Linked DNA regions of Homo sapiens: region 1 is linked to region 2. Evidence: promoter capture Hi-C in 16 types of primary human blood cells and fetal thymus (Javierre and others, 2016). All regions are on one chromosome and are shown on one strand. The core of a region is centred on a gene start or on the middle of the fragment in contact, and the rest is flanking DNA. Distances in the headings are between cores, read along the strand shown. Region 1 overlaps P2RX4 (purinergic receptor P2X 4). Region 2 holds the start of MLEC (malectin).

Evidence for each region. Contacts are between HindIII fragments. The CHiCAGO score rates a contact against its expected background, and 5 or more counts as called.
Region 1: a fragment that was not itself captured here is called in contact with the fragment with the promoter of MLEC in region 2 in 1 of 17 cell types (naive B cells); the score reaches 5.0 in naive B cells.

Annotation. Positions count from the first base shown.
Region 1 is chr12:121,211,380-121,214,079 of GRCh38, reverse strand. The region is part of intron 1 of P2RX4 (purinergic receptor P2X 4); the gene reads right to left. Among named protein-coding and RNA genes, the nearest start is that of P2RX4, 2.6 kb to the right of the region's middle. The HindIII fragment of the contact is 3,683 bases long and covers 1-2,700 here.
Region 2 is chr12:120,685,742-120,688,441 of GRCh38, reverse strand. It overlaps MLEC (malectin), which reads right to left and starts at 1,293. Exons shown (of 5, transcript NM_014730.4): 1 at 911-1,293. The coding sequence starts at 1,145. LOC105370029 (a long non-coding RNA gene) reads left to right here and starts at 1,293. Exons shown (of 3, transcript XR_945449.3): 1 at 1,293-1,588. RefSeq lists silencers at 935-1,234, 2,075-2,174 and enhancers at 989-1,490, 1,585-1,714, 1,805-1,914. The HindIII fragment of the contact is 12,504 bases long and covers 1-2,700 here.

The sequences.
Region 1 (2,700 bases), core at 62-2,561, 530 kb before region 2:
CAGGTGTGCGCCACTATGCCAAGCTAATTTTTCGTATTTTTGGTAGAGATGGGGTTTCACTACGTTGCCCAGGCTGGTCTCAAAATTCCTAAGCTCAAGGGATCCACTTGCCTCAGCCTCCCAAAGTATTGGGATTACAGGCGTGAGCTACCACAGGGCAAGACCCTGTAATTTAAAAGTTTCTAGTAGCCATGTCAAAAAGTAAAAAGAAATAGAAAGGGCTGGGCACGGTGGCTCATGCCTGTAATCCCAGCACTTTGGGAGGCCGAGGCAGACAGATTGCTAGAGCTCAGGAGTTCGAGACCAGCCTGGGCAACATGGAAACCTCATGATTGTAGAGATGAGATTTCTCATCTGTACAAACAAACAAACAAAAACACAATAATTAGCCAGTCATGGTGGTGTGCACCTGTAGTCCCATAATTCCAGAGGCTGAGATGGTAGAATCACTTGAGCCTGGGAGGCAGAGGTTGCAGTGCATTGCACTCCAGTCTGGGTGACAAAGCAAGGCGCCGTTTAAAAAGAAAAAAAGAAAAAAGAGACAGGAAAAATTAATTGTAATGATATATTCTGTGTAACCCAATATATCCAAAATATTTTAACATGTCATCAATAAAAAATGTTTTCATGTGATAGTGGTACTCTTTGTTTTTTTGAGACAGTGTCTTGCTCTGTTGCCCAGGCTGGAGGGTGGTGTGATCACAGCTCTCTGTGGCCTCAACCTCCCAGGTTCAAGCAGTCCTTCTGCCTCAACCTCCCAAATAGGTAGGCCTATAGGCGTGTGCCACCATGCCAGGCTAATTTTTGTATTTTTTTGTAGAGGCAAGGTCTCGCTATGTTGCCCAGGTTTGTCTCAAACTCTTGAGCTCAAGCGATCTTCCCACCTCAGCCTCCCAAAGTACTGTGATTTCAGGCATGAGCCACTGTGCCCAGCCTCTTTTTCTGTACTATGTCTTTGAAATCCAGTGTGTATTTTAAGGTTATAGCACATCTCAGTGTAGAGTAGGAACGGTTAAGTGTTCAACAGGTGCAAGTTACTAGTGGCTACCATACAGTGCAACACCACTATGGATATTTTCCGCAGTTGTAATTTTACAGGTACCCTAAGGTAGATGTGCACTGATCCTCCCACTAGCAGCAAACGCCAAAAGCAAAAAGCTGCAGGGGAGCTCCTGCCCCCAAATGCTTCAGGTCCAACCAGGGATGTGAGTTCAGTTAACTGGCTAGCAGTGAGTCTCCAAAAAAAAAAAAAAAATATATATATATATATATATATATATATATATATTTGAGATGGAGTTTTGCTCTTGTTGCCCAGGCTGGAGTGCAGTGGCGCAATCTGGGCTCACTGCAACCTCCGCCTCCTGGATTCAAACGATTCTCCTGCCTCAGCCTCCCATGTAGCCGGGATTACAGGCATTAGCCACTAGGCCTGGCTAATTTTTTGTACTTTTAGTAGAGACGGGGTTTTACCATGTTGGCCAGGCTGGTCTCGAACTCCTGACCTCAGGTGATCCACCCGCCTCGGCCTCCCAAAGTGCTGAGATTATAGGCATGAGCCACCGTGTTCAGAAAAAAAAAAAAAAAAAATTCTTTTTTTTGCACTGCTCCATCAGTACAATTTACCATTTTAAACTTTATTTTTCTCTTAGAGATGGGGTCTCGCTATGTTGTCCAGGCTGGTCTTGTGTCCAGGCTGGTCTTGAGCTCCTGGCCTCAAGCAATCCTCCCACCTTGGCTTCCCAAAGCACTGGGACTACAGGTGTGAGCCAATGAGTCCAAATCTGGGTGTGGGCCAGGTGGTTCTGATGTTGAGTCTGCACCTGGAAAGCCATCCTCTTGAATACTGTCTGTATCTACTGCTGCTGCTGACAGATATTGGAAGCCAAACCTGCTTGGGCTTCCCTTGGGCAGTGTTAAGATTCCAAACCTCACCCCAAAGACGGGGGGATCTGTTACTTTTAAACAATTCCTCAGATGAGTCTTCCATGATCAGGTAAACTTGGGAAACACAGTTCATTGGTTCCGAAACGTTGCTGAACATGAGAATCACCTGGGCAGCCGATCATACTCTGCAGCAATTAAATCAGAAGGTCTGGGGATGCGTCTGGGCGCGGTGGCTCACGCCTGTAATCCCAGCACTCTGGGAGGCTGCGGCGGGTGGATCACCTGAGGCCAGGAGTTCGAGACCAGCCTGGCCAACATGGCGAAACCCTGTCCCTACTAAAAATACAAAAATTAGCCGGGCATGGTGGTGGGTGCCTGTAATCCCAGCTACTCAGGAGGCTGAGGCAGGAGAATCGCTTGAACCAGGGAGGTGGAGGTTGCAGCGAGCCAAGATTGCACCACTGCACTCCAGCCTGGGCGACAGAGGGAGACTCCATCAAAAAAATAAAAAAGGGTCTGGGGATGGGAGCCAAAGATTTCCAGATGGTTCCAATGTGCAGTTTGGAGACCACTGCACTAGGCAATACGTGTCAGCCCAGCAGCTGTAGACACCAGAACACCCCAGGTAAGCCTTTAAAGTGGCCCCAGGTGGCAAGGTAATTATCATCTTCTCTCTCGCGTTGTATTCAATTGTAACAGGTGCCAGCCCCGCGTGGGGGCTCACGCCTGTAATCCCAGCATTTTGGGAGGCTGAGGTGGGCGGATCACCTGAGGTCAGTTCAGGACCAGCCTGAAACCCCGTCTCTACTAAAA
Region 2 (2,700 bases), core at 44-2,543:
AACCTACATCACAAGCCCCTGGTGCAGAAACCTGGATCCCAGCAAAAAAGCTCAATCTACTATAATCAATTTCGAGTGGGGACTAGGAATCTGCATTTTTAACCAGCTGCCCTGGCAATTCTGACACACACTAACTTTGGGAAGGGAGCAGCTCCGTTAAAAACCACTGTTGCCCAGCAAGTTAAGTCACAATCATTTTCCCCCTAAGCTGGAATTAGAACTCTCAGGATCACCTAGGGGAGGTTGTAAGCATTCTCTGATAGACCATTCGGATTCTTACACTGGTTGACCCAGTTCACACACAGCCACCAGCCTCACGTGCAGGATGGCTTCGATAGAACCACCCTCTGGGGGCGGCCTGCCGATTCTACTTTTAAGCACACATATTCTTCGCTCGAAAAGAGGGCGGGGGAGGAGGCTACAATCAAACTTTCCTGGCCCATTCTCTTCGAAGATTCCTTCCTATTCTGGCTAAGAATCAAGCCCCGCTCCTGCAGAAGGGGCAAGGAAAGCGGCCGATTCCTGGGTCGACGAGAATCTCCCAAGAACTGTCTCGACAGGAGAAGCAGGGGCACCCATGACCTACAACCCGCGAGGCCTGGAGGTAGCAAAAGGCCGCCTTCGTCATTTCTCTCCCAGCTTGGATGGGAGTGAGGGGTTGAGAAAATGCAGGATGAGAAATCCAAATATAACTAACTTCTGGCCAACTCTCTGCCTGTATGACTCTAGGTACCTTGGAGCCAGTGCCAGGCCCTGAGCTCAGAGCGGGCCCCCGAAGAAGCTGCAGAGAGAAACTTCGCTCCAGAGACGCGGCCCCAGGGTCGAAAGGGGCTCGGGGCCCGCAGCCCCCGGCCGGCTGCGCCCAGCACAGCAGGCCCTGGATCCCGCGGCTCGGCAGGGGGACTCTCACCTCGGCCCACCCGGCCTTCCAAAGGGTCCTTGCGGAAGTGGATCCCGTGCACGTCCACATGCGCCTCTCCACCCGCGTTGACCGCCCAAATGACGCTCTCGGGCAGCCCGGCCCCCGCCGCGCCGGCCACGCCGGCCACGCCGAGCCCGGGTCCCCGGATCGCCGGCGGCAGCAGCAGCAGCAGCAGTCGCAGGAGCGCCACAGCGGTTCCCTCAACCGCCCAGGCTCCCAGCATGGCGGCCACCACCACGGGGGCAGCCCCCGCCGACCCTCGTCCTCGGCCGGCTGCCAGGCCACCCCGGACTCAGAAAAACAGCGCCACGGGCCGCTCCGCCTGAGCCGCCGGGGACATGTCGCTCTCAGGCCTCCTTCTTCTCAGCCACGGGTACCGCCTCCCACCTCAGGAACAACCTACCCCGCCGCCCTGCCCCCGGCCACGACGCTGCAGCCAATCAGCGCCCGGCCCTCATTAATTACCCACCACCCCGCCGGGAGGCGCCCGCTCATTGGCTGTCAGGCGCGGGAAAGGGCGTGGCTTCTCCCAGGCGCCGGCCCAGCAGTCGGGCACCAGATGGAGCGCGCGCAGAGGGAGTGAGTTCGGTTGAAGCGGCGGTTCGATGCGGAAGTGGCGGGTGCAGCGCCCAGGCGGCCCCGGAATCCCACAGCTGAATGGGAAAGGTGGCCTGGGGGGGGAAGGTTTAGGGTAGGGCGCACTGACATGTCGCCAGCACTTCCGGTGCTCTAGCTCCTGAGACCAAATAGGCTCTGGAGGGGGCGTGGCCGACTTTCCCGCCCCCTCTTCTTTTCTCAGGGAGCAGCATGAGCATAAATTCTAGTAGGAGAAGCAATGGACACTCTCCAGACCTAAGAGACGCAGTCCTTTTCCCCGCGTGAGGGAGAGGACCCATGCTTTCCCAGAGAGGCCGCGGACACAGGTCTCCAGGGAACGAATCCCATGAGAATAAGGCCCCGCCCCCTCCCCTTAGCGGGCTCGGGGCGGGTGGTAGCGTCCAGACGGCCGTCCAATGAGAAGGCTCCAACGCAGCGGAAACGCGTGGCTTTGAGAGCGAGTGGGTGCCAGGCTGCTCGCGTCTCCATGGCGACGGCCTCTGGCCGGCCTCCGCTGCGTAGGGGCGGGACCGAGGCACCCTAGGCGCTGGCGGGAGTCGCCGCCGGCGGTGCCCAGAGTGGATACCGGGGTTGTCCCGCACGGGCACGGCCCGAACTCCCTCCCTGCTCCTTCACAGTTCACCTGGCGCTCTCCCACACTGGCGATCCCTGCGCTTCGGTCGCTGTTCAAACTCCCATTTTTCCGATGGGGAAACTGAGGCATAGAAAGGGACTGAATTTTGCCAAAGGGTCGCACCGCAAGTGTAGGGCAGAGTCAAGGCAAAAACAAAAAAAACAAAAAAACGCTTATGCATTTTCCATAAATACTGGTCGATTTAGAAATTCTCCCTAAAAGGAAAAAAATGTATCAAGTCCCTGCTACCAGGGTTGTCAGATTTGGCAGATAAAATAGGAGAAGCCCAGTTATATTTGAATTTCAGATAAGCAAATGGGACCCACTTATACTAAAAAAAAAAATGCATTGTTTATTAAAATTTAAACAACTGGACTTCTTGTATTTTATCTACCAATCCTACCTACTACTTAGGCAATGAGCTTTGTGCTACATGAACAAAAAACACACCTGGGGTCCCGCATGAGAATCATAGACTTTGCACAACCCATAATGAAATTAATTGTTTAGTTAGAACAGTGGTAAGTGCTATACGGGAACAAAACAG